Linked DNA regions of Homo sapiens: all the other regions are linked to region 2. Evidence: promoter capture Hi-C in 16 types of primary human blood cells and fetal thymus (Javierre and others, 2016). All regions are on one chromosome and are shown on one strand. The core of a region is centred on a gene start or on the middle of the fragment in contact, and the rest is flanking DNA. Distances in the headings are between cores, read along the strand shown.

What was found. The method cuts DNA at HindIII sites, captures the fragments that hold promoters and counts their contacts. A CHiCAGO score of 5 or more calls a contact.
Region 1: a contact is called between a fragment that was not itself captured here and the fragment with the promoter of ZNF234 in region 2, in 7 of 17 cell types (M2 macrophages, naive CD8 T cells, non-activated CD4 T cells and 4 more). The highest score is 8.0, in M2 macrophages.
Region 3: a fragment that was not itself captured here is called in contact with the fragment with the promoter of ZNF234 in region 2 in 12 of 17 cell types (naive CD8 T cells, M2 macrophages, M1 macrophages and 9 more); the score reaches 8.4 in naive CD8 T cells.
Region 4: the fragment with the promoter of ZNF285 here is called in contact with the fragment with the promoter of ZNF234 in region 2 in 10 of 17 cell types (total B cells, monocytes, naive CD8 T cells and 7 more); the score reaches 10.0 in total B cells.
Region 5: a contact is called between a fragment that was not itself captured here and the fragment with the promoter of ZNF234 in region 2, in 1 of 17 cell types (monocytes). The highest score is 5.2, in monocytes.
Region 6: a fragment that was not itself captured here is called in contact with the fragment with the promoter of ZNF234 in region 2 in 16 of 17 cell types (total B cells, total CD8 T cells, naive CD8 T cells and 13 more); the score reaches 11.3 in total B cells.

The regions. Positions count from the first base shown.
Region 1 is chr19:43,842,378-43,847,147 of GRCh38, reverse strand. ZNF283 (zinc finger protein 283) reads right to left here. Exons shown (of 7, transcript NM_181845.2): 7 at 1-209. Among named protein-coding and RNA genes, the nearest start is that of ZNF283, 17 kb to the right of the region's middle. The HindIII fragment of the contact is 4,496 bases long and covers 1,270-4,770 here.
Region 2 is chr19:44,139,119-44,143,571 of GRCh38, reverse strand. It overlaps ZNF234 (zinc finger protein 234), which reads right to left and starts at 2,018. Exons shown (of 6, transcript NM_006630.3): 1 at 1,839-2,018; 2 at 1,205-1,258. RefSeq lists enhancers at 1,531-1,580, 1,246-1,836, 1,591-1,990. The HindIII fragment of the contact is 9,485 bases long and covers 1-4,453 here.
Region 3 is chr19:43,866,719-43,871,699 of GRCh38, reverse strand. No RefSeq gene overlaps it. Among named protein-coding and RNA genes, the nearest start is that of ZNF404, 15 kb to the left of the region's middle. The HindIII fragment of the contact is 1,628 bases long and covers 2,737-4,364 here.
Region 4 is chr19:44,399,217-44,404,119 of GRCh38, reverse strand. It overlaps ZNF285 (zinc finger protein 285), which reads left to right and starts at 2,512. Exons shown (of 4, transcript NM_152354.6): 1 at 2,512-2,552. RefSeq lists an enhancer at 2,359-3,115. The HindIII fragment of the contact is 3,728 bases long and covers 1-2,859 here.
Region 5 is chr19:44,416,531-44,420,897 of GRCh38, reverse strand. No RefSeq gene overlaps it. Among named protein-coding and RNA genes, the nearest start is that of ZNF285, 17 kb to the right of the region's middle. The HindIII fragment of the contact is 2,484 bases long and covers 1,230-3,713 here.
Region 6 is chr19:44,479,104-44,483,896 of GRCh38, reverse strand. It overlaps ZNF180 (zinc finger protein 180), which reads left to right. Exons shown (of 5, transcript NM_001278509.3): 4 at 4,488-4,614. Among named protein-coding and RNA genes, the nearest start is that of ZNF180, 19 kb to the left of the region's middle. The HindIII fragment of the contact is 1,399 bases long and covers 994-2,392 here.

The sequences.
Region 1 (4,770 bases), core at 2,268-4,767, 300 kb after region 2:
ATAGCTGATTATCATTTGACTGAAGTATCCCTCTTGATGTCCTTTTAGTCCCTCGAATATGCTTTTGCACTTCCAATTATTTCTGAAGATGGATGCCTCAAGGCCAAGGGTTTTACTTTTGTCCTTCATCTCCCACTGGGAAAAATTTATTTCAAAAATATCATTTTCTGAAAATATTTTTTTGGTCTCATACGTTTTTGACTCCAAATCTGAAAGAAAACAAGAAAACCACACATTTTATTTCCTTCACTAGGGAAAAAAAAAAAAAAACTACAGTAGAAATAAAAGACAAATTAGGAGACTTACTGAACTCACTCCTTGGCATTAAGGCACTCCCTTGTTAAATAACAAACTCAGCCTTGATTTTGCAGCTCTTGTGATCTGAATGTTCTGATTTTATAGTTTTCTGGAGGATTCCACAGAGGTCGCTTCAACAAGTCCCTCATTTTCCCACGCTGATGTTCCCTCAAACCAAATGTCAGCTTCCATCAATCAAGCCCTTATGTGCCCAGTTGTGGTCATCCAATGTATCTTAATGGGAATCAAATTCTTATCATAATGAGCTTTGGCTGATTTTGTTTTGTCTAACAACTCTTTTGTCTAACAACTCAATGGTCGCAACTCTGCCATTTTATCAAGGCAGCCATGGGCAATATGTAAACATATAAACAAATGGGCAAGACTATGTTCCAATACAACTTTATTTGCAAAAACAGGTGGATTTGGCCTCCAGAGCCAGAGTTTTCCAACCCCTGAGATAAAGCAAACATTGCTTTCATAAATGTTCACAATTGTAAAAATATAAAGTTCAATTAAATTTTACATTTACTTAGATTTATTAGCCAGAATTTTTATAAAAGGATTGATTTTTATAACTTCATATAATGCTGCAATTATGTGACTCTATAGATTTTACCTTATTTAAAAATTTTAAATGTCTATCAATTTTAAAAATCAACAGTAATTGTATTGCTATTTAAGGATCACTTTAAATTATAAGATCTCCAATTCACTTAGACAAAATGATCTTGAGAGTTACTAATAAATAATTTCTGGTTGCATAAAAAGTTCCTAAGAAGATATTCATAAAAGAGGAAGAACAAATATTTTGAGTTATTTTTCAATTAAGTTTACTTATTTCTTGACCATTGTTAAACATATTTTCACTCAACTAAGCTCAAACTACCCTGTCAAAAATCAATGTGATACACACATCATCTTATAACACATTAATACTGTTAATTATATTTTAAAATTGAAAATAAAGCTTTAAATTATAGTGTCATTCAGCATGGTATATTGACAATATTAGCAGGTTTAAATGCATATGGGAAATGCTATGTCATATAATGTATGAAAAAAGTGACATAAGTATGATATGATAGAAAAGACTGCTAGCTAAGGGAAAATGATGATCTTGGAGTAAACTGTCCACTCTATATGAGGAAATTAAAGTATTATTCTTTTTCTTCAATACATGAAGAAAATAAATCTGCATAATTTTGCCACACTTCTGTGTATGCTTCAAATTTTAAGAGTCAAATAATTTTCATGCTTTTAGCTACCTTATACTACACATCTAAACTATTTTTAAATAGAACAGAATTTTTTATTTAAATAAAAATTAAAATCTTGCTACCTTCTCATTATTTTAAATATTGTGTTGATGTTCTGATTAATTAGTCACAACTATTGTTCTTGTCAAAAGCTCCTCTGACAACTCTTTTTGTTAATGCCTTTTCCAATTCAGAATAATGAAACAGATTGTAACAGATTATGTCTTTCACATAAAATCTGCCTTTCAGGTTTCCTAAAAGGCCACTGAGCAAGCACAAAGATTTGCTCTTTCGCTTACAAAAGATACTAGAAACAATCAGGTTTCTTTGACATAATCCAGAATTTACTTAGCCCAAAACTACTATGACTGTGTTTTTGTTTATATAACCCCAGGTATATTAAAAACCAAAAGCTGACAATAAAAAGAGAAGTTTGGCCTTTCTAGGCTAATAAGTTACTTGTTATTAAAAGGTACCTGTCCCAGCAATAATGTACTTGTCAAGTTGGAGAAGATGTATATTCATATTCATGTACCCACAGGTTATGACTTTCTATAAATTAATTTTAAGAAAGATTGTGTACCTAGGTTTAAATACCCTTGTCAATTTGGAACAATCGTAATACTCTTTCATTGTCCATAATGTGTTTTGACTTCAAGGTAGTCACTTACTTTATCCTTATAAATTAATTAGGTTTTATACCTCAATAGAGGATTTAATTTTTTTCCATTATGAAGTTGTTGTTTATTATATTAAATTAACCAGAGCCATTGAGCCTTAACAACTACAAGAAGGTTTTTCCAAACTCAAATCTACTGACATTTGGGCCCAAATCATTCTTGGTTGTGCGGGGTTTTCATGTGCCTTGCCTGTTGATGACTGTATAACATTTTGGTTGAGCTATTAAATGATGGATGATTATTGTGATGTGAATGTGGGAAGTAAGTTTAATCATATATAGTTGGTCACAGGTCTAAACTGCACTATTGCTGTTTCATTTAACAATGTCTTGCTGCTTTTTATGCATTAACATTTGGGTGTAAAGATTCTGTGGATAACCAAAACAAAGCCACAGTATTTAAGCTGACCAACCTAATATTCCAACTGAATATGGAGGTGACCAATTATGAACTAAAAGGAGTACAGTTTTGTACAACATAGCATCAGTAGTTTAGCGAATTTTAATTTCTATGTAAGGCTTAGATTTTAATTTAACATTATAGATTTAGATTTAACATTTTAGTTACTTACTACTTATGTTTTATGTAAGGTTTTACAGTGTCAGTAAATAAATATGGGTTTAACTTCTTAAATGTCAAGAAAAATCATTGAGGACCCAAAAGACTTTTAGTTTATGTAGTTATATATTTTGATATTTGTCATGTTAAAAATTTAAACAGAGAAATTTTAAGATATTTACTAATTCACTTAAAATAACAATAAACCATTAACTGTTAACATAAATGATTTGTTATAAAAATAATCTTTTCTAAAACAAAACAAAAGATGTTTTAAATTTTTTCAAATCTTTTAAATGGATGGTTTAATAAAAGACACCTGGATTCTCATATCTGCTTCTGCATTCAATCTATGGCAATATGTTATTTAGGTTGAAATATATGAAGAAAATCATATATATGAAGTATATGAAGAAAATCTAGCCTCTCATGGTACATAGTTGGAAAATGGCAGAATATTTTACTAGTCCATGCAGATAACTGTGGATATTTTTCTTTGACACCACCCTAAAACTTAAGAAATGGTAGTGTCTGGCAGGTTAAGTACAATGTGGAATATAAAATCATATCTGTGAACTTTTCATACTATGTTACATTGCACTTTGAATAATCTTTTATCCATGTGTAATTTTGTAACATCATACACTGGTCATTTGGAAAATACTGATTCAAAGAGTTATGCAGATCTTTGAAATGTTGACGTAGTTCACTATACAACATCAAAAAATCACATGTTAATATTACCACCCATCTCATAAAAAATCTTAATGTATTAGGAAGCTATAAAGCTCAAAATTATGAATAAACATTTTACAAAATTCTAATTTTAACATGACAGATTGAATTATATCATTGGCAACAAATATTAGTTATTTTTGAAGTGACAGGCTCACTTGCAAGAAAATGTTTTCCTACTGCCCAAGTCTGAACAAACAAAGTTTTTCATTCTTTGGTGAAAAATATGGTGTTTTGTCAAAAAAGCAGTTGGTTTAACTCACAATTTTTTTGGGGGTGGGGACGTAGTCTCACTTTGTCACCAGGCTGGAATGCAGTGGCACGATCTTGGCTCACTGCAACCTCCGCCTCTCGGGTTCAAGCGATTCTCCTGCCTCAGCCTCCCGAGTAGCTGGGACTACAGGCGCGTGCCACCATGCTCAGCTAATTTTTGTATTTTTAGTAGAGATGGGGTTTCACCATGTTGGCCAGGATGGTCTCGATCTCTTAACCTTGTGATCTGTCCGCCTTGGCCTCCCAAAATGCTGGGATTACGGGCATCAGCCACAGAGCCTGGCCTTTAACTCACAACTTAAACAACTGTACAAGTGGTTTTCTTCAAGGCAACCATCATACTTTGGTATACAGCAGAAGACCTTAATGGATACTTCCCATTTCATTACATAGAATATTTTTTAAATGTATATATAATCAAGGGTTGAGATTTAATAAAATGAATACTGCTTCTTCAAGATGTTCTTAAGTGAAAATGGGTTTTTTCTTAACACATTTTCTTTGTGTGTGGAGGTAAAGAATATGATGATTACTAGTACTATTTGGTGCCTCTGCCTTTGCTCATGCTAAAGCAGAGAAGATTCACCATGGCTTCTACACCACCAGTGGAAGTGTCACCACAGTGAAAAAGGCAAACCTCTCAGTATTGTTATGAGAATATTTTTCACTTTGTGAAAGGTTTGGCCCACTGAAAGGTTCTTGGGAACTCCCAGGGGTCTTCAGTCCACAGTTTGAGAACCACTGCCCTACCTAGAGTAAGAATTATGTCCAGGACTAAGGATAAAACCAAACTGTACCTGCCTTCAAAAATCAACTCTTAAAAAGATCATTGTGATCTGCTATTAATTTAACTGCTTGCCTGAACAGTTTAACTATTAGGAAGATAATAAAATCCCCAAGTCACTACAACATGGCATCTACAATGGCCAGTATACAATGAGAAATTGTAAGACCGGTAAAGAAGCAGG
Region 2 (4,453 bases), core at 769-3,268:
AATGGCGCAATCTCGGCTCACTGCAAGCTCCGCCTCCCGGGTTAACACCATTCTCTTGCCTCAGCCTCCCAAGTAGCTGGGACTACAGGTGCCCGCCAACACGCCCGGCTAATTTTTTGTATTTTTAGTAGAGACGGGGTTTCACCATGTTAGCCAGGATGGTCTTGATCTCCTGACCTCGTGATCCGCCCGCCTCGGCCTCCCAAAGTGCTGGGATTACAGGCGTGAGCCACCGCGCCCGGCCAGAGACGAGTTTTTGTCATGCTGGCCAGGCGGGTCTCAAACTCCTGGCCTCAAGTGATCCACAGGCCTTGGCCTCCCAAAGTGCTGGGATTACTCGGGCTGTGACCCTGAGTGCCTCAGTTCCATAACTCAGGACTCAGGCATGACCCACCATGCCCTGCCCTCTTATACTATTTTTGCAACTTTTCTATAGACTTAAAATTATATAATTACTGTGTTAAAGTTTTTTTAAAAAATCAGGAAATAGTCATAGGAGAAATAATAATGAGAAGAATAAGAATGAGCATGATAGAATATGGCAGGTCACTAGTTTATTATCTCTTTATCTGGAAATTTCCATGGATAAGCAGATAAATAGAAAAACATTGAGAAATGTATAATAAAAATTTTGTAAAACATTTATAAGTAATATAAACATGGAACCACTAAAACAAAATGCATTAGAAATTTAACCATTACTATCTTTACATCCTGATTTCATAGGTAATTACAATTTTTGTATCTTCGTATTTCTGTAATTTCTGAATGCTTCACAGTGATACGGTTCTATTAGAATGTGAAATATTTGTAATAAATGAAACAAAATAGTTGACAGTTTTTAAAAACTGAGAAAACTCCAAGGCAATTAGCCTTGCTCTTAAGGTCCTTTAATCAAGTTCTAACTTACTTTCCCCACCTGAGTACAGCTAGTTCCTCTGCCTCAATGAGAATATATCCAAGAGATGATCAACTCGGGCTCTGACCCTGAATGCCTAGGTTCCAACCCAAGTTTCACCTCTTACTACTTGGATGACCAGTACCTCTCCACAGAGTCACGTTGCGGCTTAAACGTATCTAATTGTATAAATCCCCTAGAATTGAAGTTAGCAATTAAGGCTTAATTATTATAAATGCCCATGCCCTATTACACATGCTACAAAGATACAGTCTCTGTAAAAGAAAAATGACAAGTCACACTCACGTGGAGCTTTGCTTTCAGTAGCCAAGAAGTCAGTCCGCGCAGTCCTTTTTCAGGCTGGGGAAGGAGAAAGCTGTGAAACATCCTGACTGGGTCGCTGTCCCTGAGAAAAGTTAAATGCTCCCCTCCCTTCGTGGAAGTGGACGCAACCCTCGCCTGCCTAAAAAGAGGTCAGAAGGCGTCCGGGATCGTCCAGCGTCCTGCAGGGATCAGAGATAAGGGCTGAGGCCCCTGCTGCTGGAGCTCTGACCCCACCGGGGGACCTAACAGGTTTCGTGGGAAAGTAACAAGAAACCACCACTCACCAAGTGACAGGGACTGTTTGTGTTGTGTAACCTATTCCAGTTACCAAAACGATTCTACAAAGATGGTCCTAACGTCCCCATTTTAAAGAACAGCAAGGAGAGGCCCAGGGAGATTAACACGCCAACCTTGCACTGTAAAAAAGTGACTGCGCGCCTGGAGTGCAGGGAGGCGGAGTGGGCGAGCTCAGAGCCCCGGAAACCCTCAAACCAGGCGAGACGCGACCCAACCAAGTCCCAATGCCCCCCGCCTCCCGCCGCGGGACACGAGGGGAGCCCCAGCCCAAGAAGGCTCCGCTGACACAACAAAAGCCGCCGCCCTCGCCCCACCAAACCTCTGCTCTCCCACGAGGCTTCTTTTCCCATAACCGGACCACCAGGTCCCAGCGAGCCCCAATCTTAAGTCCCTGACATTAGGAGGGGCCCGCGAGTCGCGGAACTGGAAGAAACTACCGTGGAATGTGCCGTGACAATCGCCCCCTCTTCCCTGGAGCGGAAGTGCCCGCGACTCCACTGATTGGCGGGACTACATTTCCCAGAATTCCCCGGATCCCCCTGCGTGGGTCAAATGGACCACGACTCCACTGAGCGTTTGGATTACACTCAGAATGCTGAGGGAAAAACGTTCAGAATCTCACCCTTCAGGGAAAAGCGATGGGACTCCGCGGTGCTCCTTGCCTACGATTCCCGCACTGCCCATGGGGAACGAATCCTATATCGCTGAGCGCTTGGTAGGGAATGTGGACTGTGACCCTGAGAGTCGTCCTTCCCTCTGCCTGAGTCCTTGAGCGAAAATATTGAATAGACAGCAATTCCTGAAGTCTAAACGCCTCCCAGGACTACGGAGGATTATTGGAAAGAGAACAAGCGAGGAGATACAATCTTCAAGGACTAAATGGGGAATGACTTTTTAGGGGTCAGTAGATGATTGATGATTGATTACTATAAACTGATAATATGAGGCCAAAACTAAAAGTTGGAAGAGTGAGCAAGTACAATGGTTTGGGAGAGGCAATGAAGAACAAAGAAGGTGCCAGCCCCTACTCCAGACGCTGTGGTACCACTGGTTTGGCAGGAAAAACAATCATCATTTGAGAGGGCCAGTGGGGAAGCCCTGTCCTCATGGAAAAGCTATCTTCTTTCGTTTACACTTTTCATGGTATTATGTCTACTGAAGAGGTAAAAACACCAAATTTCAGAGAAGCTCTTAAATTGCCCAATACTTCAAAGCAAGTATAACTGGTGAAGCGCTTGGCATTGATGTCAGACACCCAATGCCTATGATTTATTTAATGCAGTAGCATTAAGGAGGATCCTATACGTGAAGGAACATATTTTATTTTCTTCCTTTATATTTTTTGGTTAAAATATCGTCATTATAGTTAGCAATTTGGAATCTGGCTTACATTGGTTGATACAAATAAATAATAGAATAAAGCAAAATCAGAAAAAAACCCATCTAAAATCTTTCTTCAAGATAACCAGGGGCTGGGTGCGGTGGCTCACGCCTGTAATCCCAGCACTTTGGGAAGGCCAAGGCGGGCGGACCATGAGGTCAAGAGTTCGAGACCAGCCAGGAGAACATGGTGAAAACCCATATCTACTAAGAATACAAAAATTAGCCGGGCATGGTGGTGCGTGCCTGTAATTCCAGCTACTCGGGAGACTGAGGTAGGAGAATCGCTTGAACCTGAGAGGCAGAGGTTGCAGTGAGCCGAGATCATGCCACTGCACTCCAGCCTGGGCGACAGAGCAAGACTCTGTCACGGAAAAAAAAAAAAAAAAAAAGATAACCAGATTTTTTTCTCCCCATAAACATACATTGGCCTATTGATATGGTTTAGATCTGTGTCCCCACCCAAATCTCATGTTGAAATGTAATCCCCAGTGTTGGAGTTGGGGCCTGGTGGGAGGCGATTGGATCACCGGGGAGGTTTCTAATGGTTTAGCACCATCCCTCTAGTGCTGTTCTCCTGATAGAGTTCTCATGAGATCTGCTTGTTTAAAATTGTGTAGCATCTCACTCCTCGCTCTTTTCCTCCTACTCTGGCCATGTGAAGTGCTGGCTCCCTAGTCGCCTTGCAGCATGGTTGTAAGTTTCCTGAGGCCTCCCCAGAAGCTGAGCTGATGCTGCCATGTTTCCTTTACAGGCTGCAGGACTCTGTGTGAGCCAATGAAACCTCTTTATAAATTACCCAGACTCACGTATTTCTTTATAGCAATGGGGGAATGGACTAATACACTTATCAATCTATATTTTTGTTTTTTAAAAAATGAAGTCTCACATTCTAGATTCATTTTATAAACTAAAAAAATACCTTTTCACAATTGTGTTTACATAAAAACAAGGTTACTATGCTAACCACACAATGCCACACATCCCCCTCTTTGAAAATTGACTGACTGCTATTTCTATACTAGTTACAGCTGTATTGTTGCTCTAGTCGGCCCTTCCAAATGACAAAATTTATTGAGATGCTCCATCTCGGCCAGGCGCAGTGGCTCACGCTTGTAAACCCAGTACTTTGGGATGCCAAGGCCAGCGGATTACTTGAGGCCAGGAGTTTGAGACCAGCCTGGCCAACATAGTGAAACACTGTCTCCACTAAAAATACAAAAAATCAGCTGGGCGTGGCATGGTGATACATGCCTGTAATCCCAGCTACTCAGGAGGCTGAGGTACAAGAATCACTTGAACCTGGGAGGCCGAGATCACGCCACTGCACTCCAATCTGGGTGACAGAACGAGACACTGTCTCAGAAAAAAAAAAAAAAAGTGGAAGGGAGGGAGGAAGGAAGGGAAATGCACTCCAGCTGAGTGACAGAGCGAGACTCTGTCTCAGAAAAAAAAACAAAAAAAAAAAGGAAGAAAAGAAAGAAATGTAAATCAGTCAATATCTTCTAAAAAATTTAAAATTATTTTTTCCAGGGTTATATTTTTAACATTTTG
Region 3 (4,981 bases), core at 2,301-4,800, 270 kb after region 2:
AGATGTCTACTACACCATTGTCACAAAAAAATTAACAGTAACCCTATAATGTCTTAAAATATTCACTCCATTTGCAAATTTCTCCAATTTTTAAAATAATGTCTTTTAGCACTGTCTTTTTCACAAGCCAAGAACCAAACTAATCTCATATATTTTATATGATTATGGCTTATTAAGTCTCTTTTAGTCAAGAGCCTACCCTTCATCATTTTGTGACATAGACTTTTTGAAGACTTTAGATTTGACCTAAATAGTGTTGCACATGCTGTGTTTGTCTTATTGTTTCTGGAGGTGTGATTAACTTGTTTCTTTGTCCTCTATATTTACTGTGACCTGGAGGTTATGATTAGAGGCTTGATTGGGTTTCAGATTAAACATTTTCAAAAGACTACTTCATAGATAGTATCATGTACTTAATATTGTAAAGTATCAGGTGGCCTACAAGTGAAACTATGTTTTATCCCTTGATTCATGTATTGACCACCAGCTCCTTCCATTGTTATGGGTGAATTTTTTCTTTGCAATTAAATAAGTAATCCATGGAAAGTCATGTTGGAAATTTGAACAGTCTTCTGTATTCTATTTTTAGAGATGGGGTATTGCTATGTTGCCCAGGCTGGAATTCAGTGGCTATTCACAGATGTTATATAGCACACTACAGCCTTGAACTCCTGAGCTCAGGCAATCCTCCTGCCTCAACCTCTGGAGTAGCTGGGACTATAGGCACACAGTGCTACACCCAGTTGCTTAAAGAAATTAAGATGAAAATCCTCATCTTTTATATTTACCCATATATTTACTATTTCCCATGCTGTTTATTTCTTTCCAGAGATCTGAATTTTTCTCTGGTATCATTTCCCTACAGTTTGAGGAACTTAACTTAGCATTTCTTGGAGTGAACGTCTGCTGGTGATGAATTTTCATAGTTTCTTTTACTGAAATGCCTTTATTTTTTAAGGATTTCTTCTGGCTATAGAATTCTGGGTTGGCAGTTTTTTGGAGATATATGAATATATGTGTGTGTATATGCACACACACAAAGAATACACACACATATATATACTCATAAAGAGATATATATTGTTTCATATATGTATATATAAATCACCGACTTCTGGTCTTCAAGTCTCCATAGTTTACAAGAAGAAGTCATTTGAATTGTTTTTTCTCTTATGTAATGTGTCCTTTTTCTCTGGGTGCTTTCCAGATTTTCTTATTACTTTTGGTTTTCAGCTGTTTGAGTATGAGGTGCCTAGGTATGGTTTTCTTTGTGTTAATTCTGCTTGGGGTACTCTGAGCCTCTGAAATTTGCACACATGTGCCTTTCACCAAATTCCAGAAATTCTTGGCCATTATATCTTCAAATATTTTTTCTGCATTTACTCTACTCATACGTTAAATCTTTTGGTACTGTCCCACAGGTCACTGTCTTTGTTATTTATCTTCAGTATTTTTTTTCTGTTCTTCAGCTTGGACAACTTCTGTTACTCTGTTTTCAAATTCACTTATTCTTTTTCTCTGTCATTTCAGTTCTGCTGCTAAGCCTATCTATCAAATTGTTTAATTTCAGATATTACATTTTTCAGTTCTAGAATTTTCCTTTAGTACTTTTATAGTTCCTATTTCTTTACTAAGATTGCCTATTTCTTCATTGCATGCATCTTTTCACAAGGCTTTTCAGTCCTGTTAAAATCCTCTATATATTGATTCATGCTAGAAAAATATATAAAATCATTATTATGAACTTATACAGTGAAAAGTTTTCATTTCAATGAATGTTCCTATTATTTTCACTAGGTCACGAAAAAAAAGCTTTCCTTTCCTTGGAGTTTCAGATTTTGCTTATTCATATGCAATGTGATACTGGTGAGAAAAAAAATCACTGTCTTCTTTTTCCTTTATTATTAAATATTTGGAAAACTTTCTTTAAAGAAAATCTTGAACTGGAGTTCAAAGTACGAGAAATCTTTGTAAATGTCTTACACCATTAAACAGATGAGCATTGGGAAAGAACATAAGATTAATTGTTCTCTATTTCTTTTTTGTTTTGTTTTGTTATGTTTTTTTGAGACGGAGTCTCACTCTATCACCTAGGCTGGAGTGCAGTGGCGCGATCTCGGCTCACTGCAAGCTCCGCCTCCCAGGTTCATGCCATTCTCCTCAGCCTCCCGAGTAGCTGGGACTACAGGTGCCCACCACCACACCTGGCTAATTTTTTGTAGTTTTAGTAGAGACGGGGTTTCACCGTGTTAGCCAGGATGGGCTTGATCTGCTGACCTCATGATCGCCCCCCTCAGCCTCCCAAAATGCTGGGATTACAGGCGTCAGCCACCAAGCCTGACCTCTATTTCTTTTAACAGTTCCATGAAGTAGTCGTGATTCATAATATTTACATGTATATACTTCATAGGTATATTCTTTATACAGTAGAGCAAAGCAGTTAGGGAGACATCAGTCTCTTGCATTAAAATTCCAAGGAATTCAGATTTTTAACCTAATACAGCTGGTGTATCATCTATTGTGATAGAAATATTTTTTGATACCTAACAGAAATTTTTCTTTGACAGATATAAAAGACAAAAATATCTATGTCATGACTCTGGTTTTGTAGGCTGCGAATTGACAGCTTTTTTTATTTGGGGATCTTTTGAGACAAAATGTACCCACAGTATCAATTGGGCTAAATTATCTTATATTGCACAACTCATATATGGCTAAAGAAGAGTACTTGAAGCTTTTGCTAACTTTGAATTAATTGATCCATGATATTGTTAGAAATATCTTGTATTCTATGAGCAGTTTTTAGGTGACTTAATTTTTTTTTACTTTTTATAAGATCATTTTAGTCTTTCTCAGAATATGCTAACAAGATTTTTGCAACCAAACTAATAATTTATCTTATCTCTATATCCAACATTTCTTTTTTGTGCAAGAATCAGAGCCATTTTATAGCTCAAAAAGGTTATAAACTCAGATTCTGTTTAAAAATTGTTTAAATATTTTGGTTGGACATTTAATTCTAATTTCAGGCAACTAACTTCATCTATTCCATTTTGCTTCTCAAGAGAAAACGTCTCATCAAATTTACTATGTATTTGCTGAAAATGTTTCACAATATTTTTCTCTTTAACAATTTAATTTGTTATGTAATAAACAGCTTTTTTTTTTTGCTCTCTCACAGCAAATTGCAATTGACATTCATCATGAAATTCATAGTATATTATCTTCCAGGCTCATTTTTTACAATTCTGACCATAGTACTGGTCTCCACTCAATTCTGTGTAATATGCCTTCATTTATTTTAAATTTTAAATTTTGTCCATACTTACTTTTCAACCTAGAATAATAATTTAATTATAAAGTACTAAGTATTTCCATTTAATTACTAATAATTATTTCCTTAGTATCACTGTAACTCTTCTTCTTTTTGAAGTATTCAAATAAATACATCAAGGCAGGGCACAATGGCTCACACCTGTAATCTCAGCATTTGGAAGGCTGAGGCAGGCGGATCACTTGAGGCCAGGAGTTCTTGGCCCGGCCAACATGGCAAAACCCCGACGTTACTAGAAATACAAAAATTAGCCTGGTGCAGTGATGCATGCCTGTAATCCCAGCTCCTCAGGAGGCCGAAGCACAAGAATTGCTTGAACTTGGGAGGCGGAGGTTGCAGTGAGCCGAAATGGTGCCACTGCCCTCCAACCTGGGCAACAGAGTGAGCTCTTGTCAAAAACAAAAAATAAAACAAAAAAAAAAACCCAGAGCTAATACTTTCCATGAATGTTTCCACGTAAGGACTCATCCCCAACTCATCAAAAATTCAGAGTATCTGCAACAGGAAGACACTTACAGAACATTTCCATCATTCCTAAAAGTTCTCTCTTGCTTCTTATCTTTCATTCTCCTAAGGCTACTGTTGTTCTGATTTCTATTACAATTAATGTGTTTTACCTTATCTTGATCTTCATGTAAATGGAATCATACATTATGAATACTACTATTCCTTAATTCTTTCATTCAATAGAAAAATTTGAGATTCTGCTATGTTATTCCTTAGATTAGTAGTTTATAGCTTTTTACTATTTAGTAATATTCAAGGTATGAATATACCATAGTTTATTCATCTGTTCTTCTATTGATGGATTTTTGAATAGTTTGCAGGAATTTTTTTATTATAAAATCTCTCCAAATAGATTTTTTAAGATAAAAAATTATTTCCCTCATTGATTTGCATAGGTGACTCTTATAAATCAATTGGTTGTATATATTTGGAATTATTTCTGGAGCCTGTCTTCTGTTACACTGATATATTTAACTTTCCTTATACAAATACTACACTCTATGAAATAGCTTTATATTAAGCTTTGAAACAAGGTAAGCTAAATATCCCAAAGTTTTGAAGATGGCCGAATAGGAACAGCTCCGGTCTACCGCTCCCAGCGTGAGCGTCGCAGAAGACGGTGATTTCTGCATTTCCATCTGAGGTACCGGGTTCATCCCACTAGGGAGTGCCAGACAGTGGGCGCAGGTCAGTGGGTGCGCGCACCGTGCGGGAGCAGAAGCAGGGCGAGGCAATGCCTCACTTGGGAAGTGCAAGGGGTCAGGGAGTTCCCTTTCCAAGTCAAAGAACGGAGTGACGGATGGCACCTGGAAAATCGGGTCACTCCCACCCGAATACTGCGCTTTTCCGGCGGGCTTAAAAAAACGGCGCACCACGAGATTATATCCCGCACCTGGCTCGGAGGGTCCTACACCCACGGAGTCTCGCTGATTGCTAGCACAGCAGTCTGAGATCAAACTGCAAGGCGGCAGCGAGGCTGGGGGAGGGGCGCCTGCCATTGCCCAGGCTTGATTAGGTAAACAAAGCAGCCGGGAAGTTCGAACTGGGTGGAGCCCACCACAGCTCAAGGAGGCCTGCCTGCATCTGTAGGCTCCACCTCTGGGGGCAGGGCACAGACAAACAAAAAGATAGCAGTAACCT
Region 4 (4,903 bases), core at 1,263-3,762, 260 kb before region 2:
AAATTTTAAAATCCAAAATGTTTCACAATCTAAAACTTTTGGAATGTGAACATGACACCACAAGTGGAAAATTCCACACCTGAAGTATTTGCTTTCTTTCTGTTCTTTTCATTGATTTTTCTTTGGTCATCTGACGAAGGCAATCTTTGCTTCTGATGGTTCAATGCACACAAACATTGTATACAAACCTTGTGAACAAAATTATTCAAAATAATTCTATAAAATTAATTTCAGGCTACATGTATAAGGTTTATATGGAACACAAATGAATTTTGCATTTAGACTTGGGTCTCATCCTCAAGATATCTCATTACGTATATGCAAATATTGCAAAATCTGAAAAAAATAAAATATCTGAAACACTTCTGGTCCCAAGTATTTCAGATAAGGAATACAACACTTCCATACCTAACAACACAACTTTTAAAAAGTAAAGCCATTTGTATACCTAGTAACTTGACTTTTGAAAAATGAAGCAGGCTGGGCATGGTGGCTCACGCCTGTAATCCCAGCACTTTGGGAGGCCGAGGTGGGCAGATCACAAGGTCAGGAGATGGAGACCATCCTGGCTAACACGGTGAAACCCTGTCTCTACTAAAAATACAAAAAAATTAGCTGGGCCTGGTGGCGGGCACCTGTAGTCCCAGCTACTCGGGAGGCTGAAGCAGGAGAATGGTGTGAACCTGGGAGGCAGAGCTTGCAGTGAGTTGAGATGGCGCCACTGCACTCCAGCCTGGGCAACAGAGCGAGACTCAGTCTCAAAAAAAAAATAAAGGAAATAAATAAATAAATAAATAAATAAATAAATAAAGCAAATGCTATAGAGAGGAAAATGACAAATTTACCATTATAGGCTTTTTTTTCTTTCACTTTTTTCTTTTTTCTTTTTTTTTGGTGACAGAGTCTTGCTCTGTCGCCCAGGCTGGAGTGCAGTGGCATGATCTCGGCTCATTGCAACCTCCACCTCCTGGGTTCAAGTGATTCTCTTGCCTCAGCCTCCCAAGTAGCTGGGACTACACGTGCTTGCCACCATGCCTGGCTAAGTTTTGTATTTTTAGTAGCGATGGGGTTTCACCACCTTGGCCAGGCTGGTCTTGAACTCCTCACCGCGTGATCTGCCCACCTCGGCCTCCCAAAGTACTGAGATTACAGGCTTGAGCCACCACGCCCAGACTGGGAACCTTTTTGACATGCACTTTTCAATCGTTGACAGATGCATAATGAAAAAATCTAAGTAAGCACAAATAAGCATGTAGGAAATTTAAATAGCACAGTTAGCAAGTCTGGGGAAAATATAAATGTATGCATATCCATCTGATAGAGAAGACACATTGTTTTCCAACAGACACAGATGTCACAAAAATTAACCTTGTATTAGGTCAAAAATAAAAATGTTCCTGAACTCGTTTTTTAAAATTCAAGTATGTCAAATTAAATCAAGTAATCCTTCAACTTAGAGCAATATATAAGAACATCAAACATGTAAACATCAAAAGACAGAGATAAGCCAAAACAATTGCACTGTCCCTTTATGTGCCCTAAGCTGCGATGTCAAGCTATAGTTGGATATTATTCAACCATTTCCTGCCCATTGCGTAGAGGTGGGGGTCTTCACTTCTCTATCTAGTCTAGGACTGGAACCGCCTCACCACCCCTACAGCTTGAGGGTGCGTGGAAAAGGGAATGCCAGCCAGATATTCCAAACAGAGACTCTGCCAGCAGGACCAGGTGACCTTTCCTAGGAGACAGATTGTTCTCACACGTTATCAGGGCTTTCCTCCAGGCTAAAACTGTGGGCCTCTAATGGAATTCCTATTCAATTTTCTTACCCCATTTAGGGTACCCAAATTTTTCTTTAATAGAAATCTTAAATCTTAAATGCAATAACATGAAGTAAAATAAAGCCTAAGTCTCAACAAGGGCAAATTTTCAAAAAGAATCTGAAAACTTCCCGCGTTTTCTTGTTATGTTGTAATGTGTCTCTTTTAGGACACTCTCAGTACTCCTGCAATTCCCCTGTTAAGGATTCAGACAATAGTTGTTAATTCCTTCTGCTTCTTCTGAGACTAGGAAATAAATTACAGGGCTATGTTATATCGCAAGTGTAGATTATCCAGAGTTTTCATCAACAGAAATAAAACATGGTGGGGGGCGGGGAGGGAATTATTTAAGTGAGTGTTAATTGAAAAGTTTCGTGGTTTTAACGTTAAAAGACATGCCTATAAAATAAGAACTTATAAAAGTCTTCACTAAAACGGTAAAGTGCCCATTTCCAAGTAGTAAAATATTGAAACTTCTTTTCATCGTTGATAGTGATTTATTTAACATTTCATTATTTTATCGTTATTATGATTGTCGTTATTTTAGACGAATGCACGGAAGTCAAAGGACTTCCAAATGCACGGAAGTCAAAGGCCACCTTCACCAGGGTAGCCTTGCGAATGGCCACTGCTGCGCGCGGGGCTTTCTGGGGATTGTAGGCCATAGGCCTCCTTGCGCATGCGCCATGGTACTGGACGCACGCTGCGGGCGACATTGTTTGGGACGCTGGGGTGAGTCCCGTCTGTACCGCGCCCCTCTTGGAGGCGTAGCCAGGAGTAGGAGTGTAGGATGTGCAGCTGTGACCCGTCCCTGTGGACTGAAGTAGGAGGAGTGGAAGAGGGGACTGGTAACCAATGATAAGGCCTCGTAGGTGGGGTAGACTAGGGAAGTTCAGCGGCCCGACCTACCCGGGATAGGATGGGAAGAGCGTGGGCTCGAGCGTGGGCTCGGTTTGGGGAGCAGCCCTGGGTTTGACAAAACAGTGCATCTTCACGTTTCGTGACAGCGACTTGCGCTGTGCCTCCTCGGGTCGAAGCTTAGGGTCAGTCTTGGGATGTGCATCTCTGGATGAGGGCAGAGGGGCGCTGGCTCAGGGTTTTGGAGTAATGGCTGGACTGTGCGTCCCTGAATGGGATGAGGGATTTGCTTAAGCAGCTAGTCTCTGGATATAGAGGATGGCTTCGGCTGTTCTCGCTCAGTTTGGTGGGGGCGATTCTGGCTCAGCACCCCTAGGTTCTTGGATGGGGAGTTGTCTTGGGTCTGAACTCTGGATTTTGGCAGCTCTGACTCCATTGGGGCATTTATGACTTCAAGGCAGAGGTTCTGGCTTTTGGCAATAAAGAAACAACTCAGACTGTAATACTGTAATAACTCCAGAGTTTAATGTCACCGAATACATTTTGAAAAGAACTGTCCCAGGCCTGGCGCGGTGCCTCACGCCTGTAATCCCAGCACTTTGGGAGGCCAAAGTGGGCGGATCACGAGGTCAGGAGATCGAGACCATCCTGGCTAACACGGTGAAACCCCGTCTCTACTACAAAAAACAATTACAAAAAATTAGCCGGGCACGGTGGCAGGCGCCTGTAGTCCCAGCTACTCGGGAGGCTGAGGCAGGAGAATGGCGTGAACCCGGGAGGCGGAGCTTGCAGTGAGCTGAGATCACGCCACTGCACTCCAGCCTGGGCGACAGAGCCAGACTCTGTCTCAAAGAAAAAAGAAAAGAAAAGAACTGCCCCAAATTATTAACTCCATTCTCACCTCACATGCTGTGAGCCAGGGAGTAGGGACTTTGAGTATTATAAAGCACATTAGCAAATATAAGTTGTTAAATTACACTCAACAAATTTGAAGTTTGAACACTCTCTGTATATTTGATAAAGTTAGAGATTTAGTGTTAATTATTTTAGGTGTAATAGCAGCATTTATTACATTTCTGATCGTGTTTCTGGGCAATTGCAGTTCCAGATTCAGCTGCACTTTTCCTCTAGGTCTTCATTCCCTGAAGAAGTTGATATGGGCATCTGGTCTCATTCCTGATGCATTCCTCAGATCAGAGTAGTTGTCAGGGTGAGGGATGAGAAAGGCATTTGTGTGCGAGAGCTGTGTGGACTTTGGCAGATAGGGAAAAAACAAGAGTCTTGAGGTGCCATGTGTCCCATGCCTTTGGCTCCCCACCTTTTCCACCCTGCTGTCTGCCCTGAAAGGCCGCCATTGCCTTCTGGCCTTGCTTGTCTTTGGCCAATGGGAAGTCTCAACAGGAAAGTTTGGAGAGAGGAAGAAGTGTGAGTTGGAGTATCTTGTCCCCCAGTTCTCTCTCTGCAGGATTGTCACAGATTAGCTGCCCTTCTAAACAACAGGTCATAGTTTGGGTGGCCCTGGCCACACAGTCCTCTTAGTTCCAGGCTCCAGGGACTGCTCCCTCCCCTTACCTCTTAAGGCCCAGGTATTATAATGGCACCTCCCTGTCACTCCCCAGGATAGAGCCTTATCCATTGTGATTTCCTTACCCCGAGCCAACACCATTGTAAGCCGTCTGTTTATTAAACTCTCCTCAAATTTCAATGTGCCGTCTGGTTCGTGCCACGGCCCTGACTTGATACAGGCAGGTAGTGTCTGAAGCCAGAAATTCAGGAAACCAAACCCCCAACCATATATGTGTGAGTGCATGTGTGTGGATGTGTGCTTCAAAATAAACCTGTCCCATTATTGGCTCTTCAGTGAGAACAGGTACTGGAAGTAGAGGGTGAGTTTATGTCTTTGCACGTGCATCTAATGTATAATATCCAAGCCAATTCTATTTGTGCATTTGTTAATATTGAGAAACATTGATTGAGTGCTTGTTAAATGATAAGATCCTTACCAAGTACAGTGGATAAAAGACTACAGCTTGGTTATTTTTTTTTTTTTTTAGGATTTGTAGTTTTTTGACAGGGGAAAGGAGGAGTGTTTTCTTGGTAGGTTTTAACTATTGTAAAACGATGTAATTCATGCTGTACTAATGAGTTGAACCCTCCTTATTTTGGCCTTTGTTGGAGCCCAAAATAAGAAGTGATTAATGATGTCTCTTAAAGGTAGGAAAGGA
Region 5 (4,367 bases), core at 1,222-3,721, 280 kb before region 2:
ACTGGGGGAACCCACCCATGATGATTCAACAAGAGTCCTTTTCTATTTTCCCTAAGTGTTGGCCGGTCTGAGAAATAAAGGGAAAGAGTACAAAGAGAGAAATTTTTAAAGCTGGGTGTCTGGGGGAGACATCACATGTTGGCAGGTTCCGTGATGCACCTCCAAGCCGCAAAACCAGCAAGTTTTTATTAGTGATTTTCAAAAGTGGAGGTAGTGTACGAATAGGGTGTGGGTCGCAGAGATCACATACTTCACAAGGTAATAAAATATCACAACACAAATGGAGGCAGGGTGAGATCACAGGACTGGGGCAAAATTAAAATTGCTAATGAAGTTTTGGGCATGCATTGTCATTGATAACATTTATCAGGAGACATGGTTTGAGAGCAGACAACCGGTCTGACCAAAATTTATTAGGCGGGAATTTCCTCATCCTAATTGGCCTGGGAGTGCAACGGGAGACCAGGGCTTATTTCATCCCTTATCTGCAACCATAAAAGACAGACGTCCCCAGAGCTGCAATTTCAGAGGCCTACCCCTAGGAACGCATTCCCTTTCTCAGGGCTGTTCCTTGCTGAGAAAAAGAATTCAGCAATATTTCTCCTATTTGCTTTTGAAAGAAGAGAAATATGGCTGTGTTCTGCCTGGCTCTCAGGCAGCCAGATCTAATGGTTATCTCCCTTATTCCCTGAACATCACTGTTATCCTGTTCTTTTTTCAAGGTGCCCAGATTTCATATTTTTTAAACAATTTGTGCAGATAATGCAATCATCACAGGGTCCAGAGGCGACATTCATCCTCAGTTTACGAAGATGACAGGATTAAGAGATTAAAGACAGGCATAGGAAAAAACAGGAGTATTGATTGGGGAAATGATAAACGTCCATGAAATATTCACAATTTATGTTCTTCTGCCATGGCTTCAGCCTGTCCCAACGTTCGGAGTCCCTGACTTCCCGCAACATCTCTCCCATTTTTTTTTTTTTTTATATAAATGTGCCAAGGTGATGAAGGCTTGTTCGTTCTCTCAATTTTGACTCAGGATTCTTTGACTGGTTCCACACACTAAAGACAAGCTGATTAAACAGAGAAACATATTTCCAAAATTCACTGCAGAGGAGCCCCCAATAGACTTAATCCAAGTCATGGGGTTTAATCCATAAAGATTTTCTGCCACCTGATCTAACACCTCAGCTCCAGGCACAATGGATAAGTGAGCTTGAGAAGCTTCAAAAATTTGTTTCTTTAATTTATCTTAAATTAAATGATAAATTATCTTCCCTACCCAGAAGGTGTCCTTTGACCATTTACCATGAATGATCAGTCTCTTTATAGGAACATGGGGTGATACAGAAATCTGAAGTGTTCCAATCACACTGCATTTGCATTCGATGTTTGAGACTCACTACCCAATCTCCAAGCCAAGTAACAGACTGTCTTAAATAATTAATTTGATTAGCCAATTTTTGATCAATGCCTTGTTGAGAATTCCACATTTGGGTGGAATTGGCTTGCCAATCATTAACAAAATGAGCCTTTTGAATAGACTGATGTAACACCATTCTGGCAGTGGTGGCCATTGCAGTGACACTGCAGCCACTGCTCTGCTCTGGGAAGATCTGGGCACAGGCCCGCCAGGGTGGGTTTAAATAGCCTCAGGTGCAGCCTGGCAGCAGAAAGGGCGGAGCTTCACTCCTCCTTTCATGTGTCTCCCCCAACTTTTCCAGGCTCCATCTCCTAGGAAACTGCTCTCCTGATTTGATGTCATGTGACGCATTTGGGACAATCTAAGAAATTAGAAATTTTGTTGGCCAAATATATTATTAATTAAATGCATTGAAAACTATCTAGTGCTGTGGTTCTCACGTTGTGGTTTTGAGACCAGCAGCATCCTTGCAACCCTCAAGCCCCGGAGATCCACAAATCTAGGTTCTCTCAAGCCTTCCCCCTGACCCTGATGTATGGCAGTTTAAGAATTACCCATGTAAGCAAAAAGACTTTTAAGAAAAAGTGGAGATATGCATTGTATAAACATTCTTCTGCTCTGGAACCATGTAGAGACTTTGGGGCCAGGTGGGTGGAGCATTCATAGGATGAGGGTGGTGAGGTTAGGAATATCAAGGTGTGGCTCCAGATAATTAGACCATCTAATTAAGTTTTCAGTTATGCTAATCTGTTTTAAAATTCCGTTTATGTAAATTCTATTACTCAGACCAAGAATGGCAATGCCTCAACCCCAATTTCCAGGGAGGGTTGAGAGCCTGAGGTTGAGTTGATCACCAATAGCCGATGGTTTAACCCATCATGCCTATGTAATGAAGCCTCCATAAAAACAAAAAAGGACTGGGTTTATAGGGCTTCTGGATAAAACTTCCTGGAAGGTAGTGCACCCCTCCCCCCATGCCAGGCCCCATGAATCTTTTTTTCTGAATTTTTTGCAACATCCTCTATAATAAAATGGTAAATGTAAGTGTTTCCCTGTGTGGTGTGAGCTGTTCTAGCAAATTAATTCAACTGAAACAGGGAGTGGTGGAAACCTGATTTATACCCAGTTGGTCAGAAGCACAGGTAAAACAACATAGGACTTGCCATTGTTATTACAGTGGGAGGCGAGTCTTGCAGAACTGAGCCCTGTGGAATCTAATGCTATGGCCAGGTAGATAGTGTCATCATTGAATTAGAAGACACCCAGCTGGCGTCCACAGCAGAATGGATGGTGTGCTTGACTGACCGAGAGAAATCCCCAGACATGTTGTCACAGGAATCTTCTGTGTTGATTGTTGTGATGTGAGAGCAGAGGAAAAACAGTTTTTGTTTTTTTCGCTGAGCCTAAAATGTAAAAGGGTCTATTTTCTCACACTATTTAGGATCACATGATTTATAATAAAAATGTTTAATCTTTGTCAACTTGATATATAAAAAGGATGTTGGTTTTCATTTTATTGCTAACAGTCAAGGTGGTCATAGTTGATGTGTTTTTGTCATTTTTCTTTTCACTGCCTTGTCATGTCTTTCACCCATTTTTTAGTTATTTAATTTTTAATTAAAAAAAAATTTTAGGCCGGGCGCAATGGCTCACACCTGTAATCCCAGCACTTTGGGAGGCTGAGGCGGGTGAATCACGAGATCAAGAGATCGAGACCATCCTGGCCAACATTGTGAAGCCCCGTCTCTACTGATAGTAGAAAAATTAGCCGGGTGTGGTGGTGGGCGCCTGTAGTCCCAGCTACTCAGGAGGCTGAGGCGGAAGCCACTGCACTCCAGCCTGGGTGAAAGAGCAAGACTCCATGTGAAAAGAAAAACAAACAAAAAAACCTGGCTCTTATTAATCCTTTTATTTTTTTCCATCAGGTGAACAATTATGGCATTACGTTATGTGAATTTTTCCAGGTAGGAGATATTGGCCATCCTCTTTTTTTTTTTCTTTTTTTTTTTTTTTGAGAAAGGATCTCAGCCTGTCACCCAGGCTTTAGTGCTATGGTCGGATCAGAGCCTCAAGAGATCCTCAGCCTCTTGAGTAGCTGCAACTACAGGTGTGCACCACTGCACCTGATAATTTTCTTTTATTTTTTTTGTGGAGTCGAGGTCTCACTATGTTGCCCAGGCTTGTCTCAAAATCCTGGGCTCAAGTGATTCTCCTGCCTTGGCCTACCAAAGTGATGGGATCACGGGTGTGAGCCACATCTCCCTGACTCTTCATCCTCTTATAAGCTTATTCCTTTGTATTTCCCTTGCTATTTACTCCTTGTTTCTTTCTGTTTAGGTATTCATCTTATCTATGAACTCTTTTTGTGTATTTTTTCTAGGTTTTGATCTTTTTTCCTGTTATATATATTAACAAGAAAATTACTTTCAAACTGTTGATTGACATTTATTTTCATGGTGATATGTTTTAGAAAGTAATATTTCTTAATATGATGATTTATATTGCTAAATGTAGTAATGATTAATTTCCATGCATTACTGTTGTACTGTAAAAATTTCAATATATTGCTGGATTTTGTTTGCTGCTTTTCATACAATTTTGCAGTCCTATTCGTTGAAACATTTTCCTTTAGTTTTCTGGCTTTATTTGTTGTTGTTGTAGTTGTTGTTGTTCTATTATGGTATAATTTGGTTATCAAAATTATACTAGGATTTGTGGTAGTAATATAATAAGAAGCTCCTAGCGCGTTCTGCTCTCTGGAAAAGTTTATTGTAATAATCACCTCATTGAAGGTTGGTGTTATTTCCCTCTTAGAGCATTCAGAATAGATTTCCTATTTGGGGATTAACCTAAGGTTTCTTCTGAGGTTGTAGTTTTATTTAGCATTTATACTGCTTGTTAAATATATTTGCGTTCTCTATATATTCCCAGAAAATTATAT
Region 6 (4,793 bases), core at 444-2,943, 340 kb before region 2:
TTTTGAGATTGAGGGTTTTTTTTAAAGGGATTGAAAATATTCAATTCAGTTTAAATGATTACAGGAAGGAGTTAGTAGAGGAAAAAAAGTTATTCATCAGGCAACAAGAGAGAAACTATAAAGCACAGTCCTTGGTTAGCACCAGAGAAATTAATTCAGAACATCTTGAATAAATTAGCTCTATATGAGGAGAAGGATTTATATAGGAACAGTGAGGTTGAGGGAATTATTTGAAAGCTTGATCTTTCACTGCGAAAAATCAGATGAGCATGATGGTGGGAATTGGAATGGAGAGATGTATGACAAGGGTAGAGAAGGCTTAAAATAGCAATTTTGGATTATGAGAGGAAACAGGCTGCTCCAGTAAATGTAATAGGATTGCTGGTCAATCTGAAAGTTTCATTCAGAGATAGTGGCCATTAATTTATAATACTCTATCCTGCTGCTTTTGTGGATTTTTCCCTGCAGTGGCAATTTGTAGCCCACTTTCCACAGATAGCAGATTGACATTCAGATTCATTTAGTTTTTGTAATTTGCCAGGTCCACTTCCTATGGAGTGGACACTCCAAAGGTCAAGGGAATACTTGAAAGAGAATTTAAAAATACGTCAAGTAGAAAGATTAAAAAGAATGATCCATGAACCTTAAATTGAGTAATTAATATGGAAGTGATAAAGAGCCCACTAAGTAGAAATGAAAAAGAATATAGGCTGGTAGTGGTAATAGTAGACATTTCGGTAGCATAATGGCCTTAAACTTTCAAGGAACAAGAGTAAAGGGAAAAAACTGAGCCAATACAGTGGAGCAATCTGACATTGTAGTGAAACGTGGGCAGTTTTGTATTTGTGATTCAAAAGGTGGAGTGTTTTATGACAATTTCAAGGTCTGGGGTGTCCCCCGAAGAATGAGCTGATGAAGAGCAGCTTCAGAATATGAGACTTGGGTTAGCCATATGAACTGATGACTGAGAACACAGTCATCAATGTGCAAGCTTGAGGTTTTATCCCTCTACTACTAACCTTAGGCATATGTCTTAATTTCTCTGACTCCCTTGGTCTTCATAAGAAAAAAATAATACTGCTAATAGTGTTTTCTCACAGGAGCCCTTTGAGAATTAAATGAATAATCCATATGACATGTTAGCACAATGCCTGGCACCATGGTGGTGCTTCATGCAAACTCATAAGTGCTTCATTAAAGTCAGTTATTTTTATATTCTCATCAGCTGACTATACAAGTGGATGCTATAGACAATATGAGATAAGACACTACAAGTTCTTATATTAGAGGATAAATCCCAAGTATGAATCTTCAGTGAATGGGGTGGGGGTGGTGTTCAGGAGGTGGGTAGGACAGAGCTCCAAGAAGTGAGGTAAATGGCATGAGTTTCAGAGTAACTGGGAGGACATGCACTCCTTCTTTGATGCTGAGATCTAGGATGGGAGAGTATGAGCATTCTTAGCCTCTGAGGACTGAGGAGGAGGGAAGTCATCAGCAGGAAGTATAAGTCTCCATTAACACAGGGATGTATAGGGAATGTTTGGTGAAGGATACTGAAACTGCAATATTTTATTGTTATTATGATTTTGAGACAGGGTCTCACTCCAGTTACCCAGGCTGGACTGCAATGGTGTGATCATGGCTCACTGCAGCCTTGAATTCCGAGGCTCAGGTGATTCTCCAAACCTCAGCCTCCTGAGTAGCTGGGACTATAGGCATGCACCAGCACACCTGGCTAATTTTTTGTGTTTTTAGTAGAGACAGGGTTTCACCATGTTGCCCAGGCTGGTCTTGAATTCCTGGGCTGAAATGATCCACCCACCTCAGTCTCCCAAAGTGCTGGGATTATAGGCATGAGCCGCCCTACCCATCCTATTTTATTGTTACAAAAGATGAGTTTCAAGGGCAGTTGAAGATTTTGGGAAGGAGTTTTCAGGCATGAGGAATTTGGGACAAGTGAGAAGAATAGAATAAGTGGGATAGAAGTCCAGAAAAGCTAGTATCTGCACATTGAGGGGCCTTTTCAAATGGGTATGTGGTACAGCTTGTGAGATTCAGGTGAGGGGGGATGACTTAAATCAATTTGGGTGAGGGTTATTTTGATATCTTATAAGGTTTATTGATAGTGTTCATTCACTTACTGAAATAATTTGTGAAATATAAATGTAATATCTACTATATATAAACACTATGCTAAGCATTGGAGTTACATTTGCAAACTGTAAATACTTGTCCCTGCCTTCATGGATCATGGCCTAGTGACAGAGATGACCATTCTGCAAATAAGAAAGTGTGATTATAGAAGTCCATGGAACTTTGAGAATATATAGTTGGGAGTGGAGTGGGGGTGCTAATCTAGTTTAGTATTATCTGTTTGACATTTGAACAAGCTTTATACTAAAGAGACCTATATTACACAGAAAGGGGGAGTGTTTATTAAAAAGAAGCATGCATTACAGATTGAAAGACAATACCTTAAAGATTAATGTTAAATACAGGCAGCAGTTGGCGAGTTATTTTTTGAATTTCACGTTGGGCTAATCATGAAAACATTTGAGGTTTCAGTGAAATTTTTAGGCTCAAACTTAGAGGCATATACAGCAGTATTTTGCATGTGCTTTCATGGCATTCAGGACCCTGTATCCTATTCATGAACTGCAGCTCAAGAATGCCTGGTCTATTTAAAGAGCCTTTAGTGGCAAGAGGCATTCGACTTCCCCTTGCCTTTGCTGTGCCTGGGTAAGGACAGATCACCCTTAGCACTTCTCTTTTGGATTAAAATTCCTGCCCAGTTATCTTAAGAACAGGCCCTTTCCTGCTTAGAGGAGGCAGCCCAAGAGACCCCATTTATATGGCAGTAATAACAGCAAACGTCTCCTAAAAGGCTCTGCCATGCAGCTGGATATGGATAGAAACAGAACTGTTATTTGAAGACTGAGAGTTCAGAATAAAGGTCACTTTGGCTCTCAGTTAATCTTTGAGGATCCTGAGACCTACTAATCATAACAGTACAGGCTAAGCACCCCTAATCCAAAAATCTGAAATTGTCCAAAATTGGAAGGTTTTGGAGCCCCAGCATAATGCCACAAGTGGAAAATTCTACACTTGACCTCATGCGACCACTCATAGTCAAAACAGTCAAAACTGTTTCATACACAAAATTTTTTTAAAAATTGCATAAAATTACCATTAGGCTATATGTTTAAGGTGTATATGAAACATAAATGAATTTGTGTTTAGACTTGGATCCCATCTTCAAGGCATCTCATGTAAATGCAAATATTTCAAAATCTGAAATCCAAAATTCTTCCAGTCCTAAGTATTTTAGCTATGGGATACTCAGCCTGTAATTGCTGGCCTTCGTTGTTTCATCAGTAAACTCTGCTAGTGGCTTTTCATAGATCATCGTAATTATTCATTCAACCCAATGATTTAGGTATTATTAGGCCTAATAAATAGAAATGGAATAAACTCGCCAGGGAAAGACAATTGGGTCAGGTGTGGTGGCTCATCCCTGTAATTCCAGCACTGTGGGAGTCTGAGATGGGAAGATTCCTTGAACACAGGAGTCTGAGACCAGCCTAAGCAATATATTGAGGGTCTGTCTCTACAAAATTTTAAAAATTAGCCAAGCACGGTGATGCACACCTGTAGTCCCAGCTACTTGGGAGACTAGGTGGGAGGATCACTTGAGCCCAGAAGATGGAGGCTGCAGTGAGCCATGATTGTGCCACTGTACTCCAGCCTGGGCAACAGAGTGAGGTCTTGTCTCAAAAGAAAAAAAAAGGACAGATTGTCAGATTAGATGTATTTCTTAAGCAGATATATGCCCTTTATAGGTGAGAAAGCCAAGTCTTTGTATCTTCTACATCCAGTGTTCTTCACCTATACATACTGCTTTTCATCGAGGTCCACATTTCATTTTCTGTCTCATGCATTAGCAAAGTACAGCCTGTGGCTGTTTTTGTAAATAAAGATCTATTGTAATGTAGCCACACCCATTTGTTTATATATTTTCTGTGGCTAATTTCTTGCTATAGCAGCAGAGTTGAGTAGTGTGATAGAGACTGTATGGCTGGCAAAGTGTGAAATATTTACTATCTGGCCTTTGACAGAAAAAAATCAACCACCCCTGTTTCATTAATTTCTTGGGAATTTAGAGGGAATTCCTAAGTGGGAATTCTATATTCACCAGTGCAAAAGTCAGAATAAGCATCCTTTTTAAGGCAGACAAAATAAAATAGTTTATATCAGTTCTTATCTGGTATTCCTCTTTGGAGTTGTAAAAACAGGTCCAGCATCCAAAACCCAAAGAGCTCACCCAGAAGGCACCTGTACATCTTGACTGGAATCTTTTGGGCACTGACAATTTAAGGACAACTCCCAGGTCACCAATTTTCCTTTTTCCATCTGTCAGACTTTTCCTCCTCCATGAACTTTGGAAGGAAATGATGCCCAGCTGAGCAGGAATGTGTGTCCTTTTTTAGGAAGGAGTGAACTTCAAAATTGTGACTGTGGACTTCACACGGGAGGAACAGGGTACTTGCAACCCTGCTCAGAGGACCCTGGACAGAGATGTGATCCTGGAGAACCACAGGGACCTAGTCTCTTGGGGTAAGAATACACTCCTCTTTAATGAAGATCCATCTACTGAAATGATTTCACATTCTGATCGATTAAGAACTGTGAAATTCAGCAGCCAGAATGATTTTGGCTGCATCTAGATTGTGTTTGTGCTCTTTATTCCCCAGTGAAGATTAATTTTAGTTTGTAGGGTAGAAATAGTGCAGATT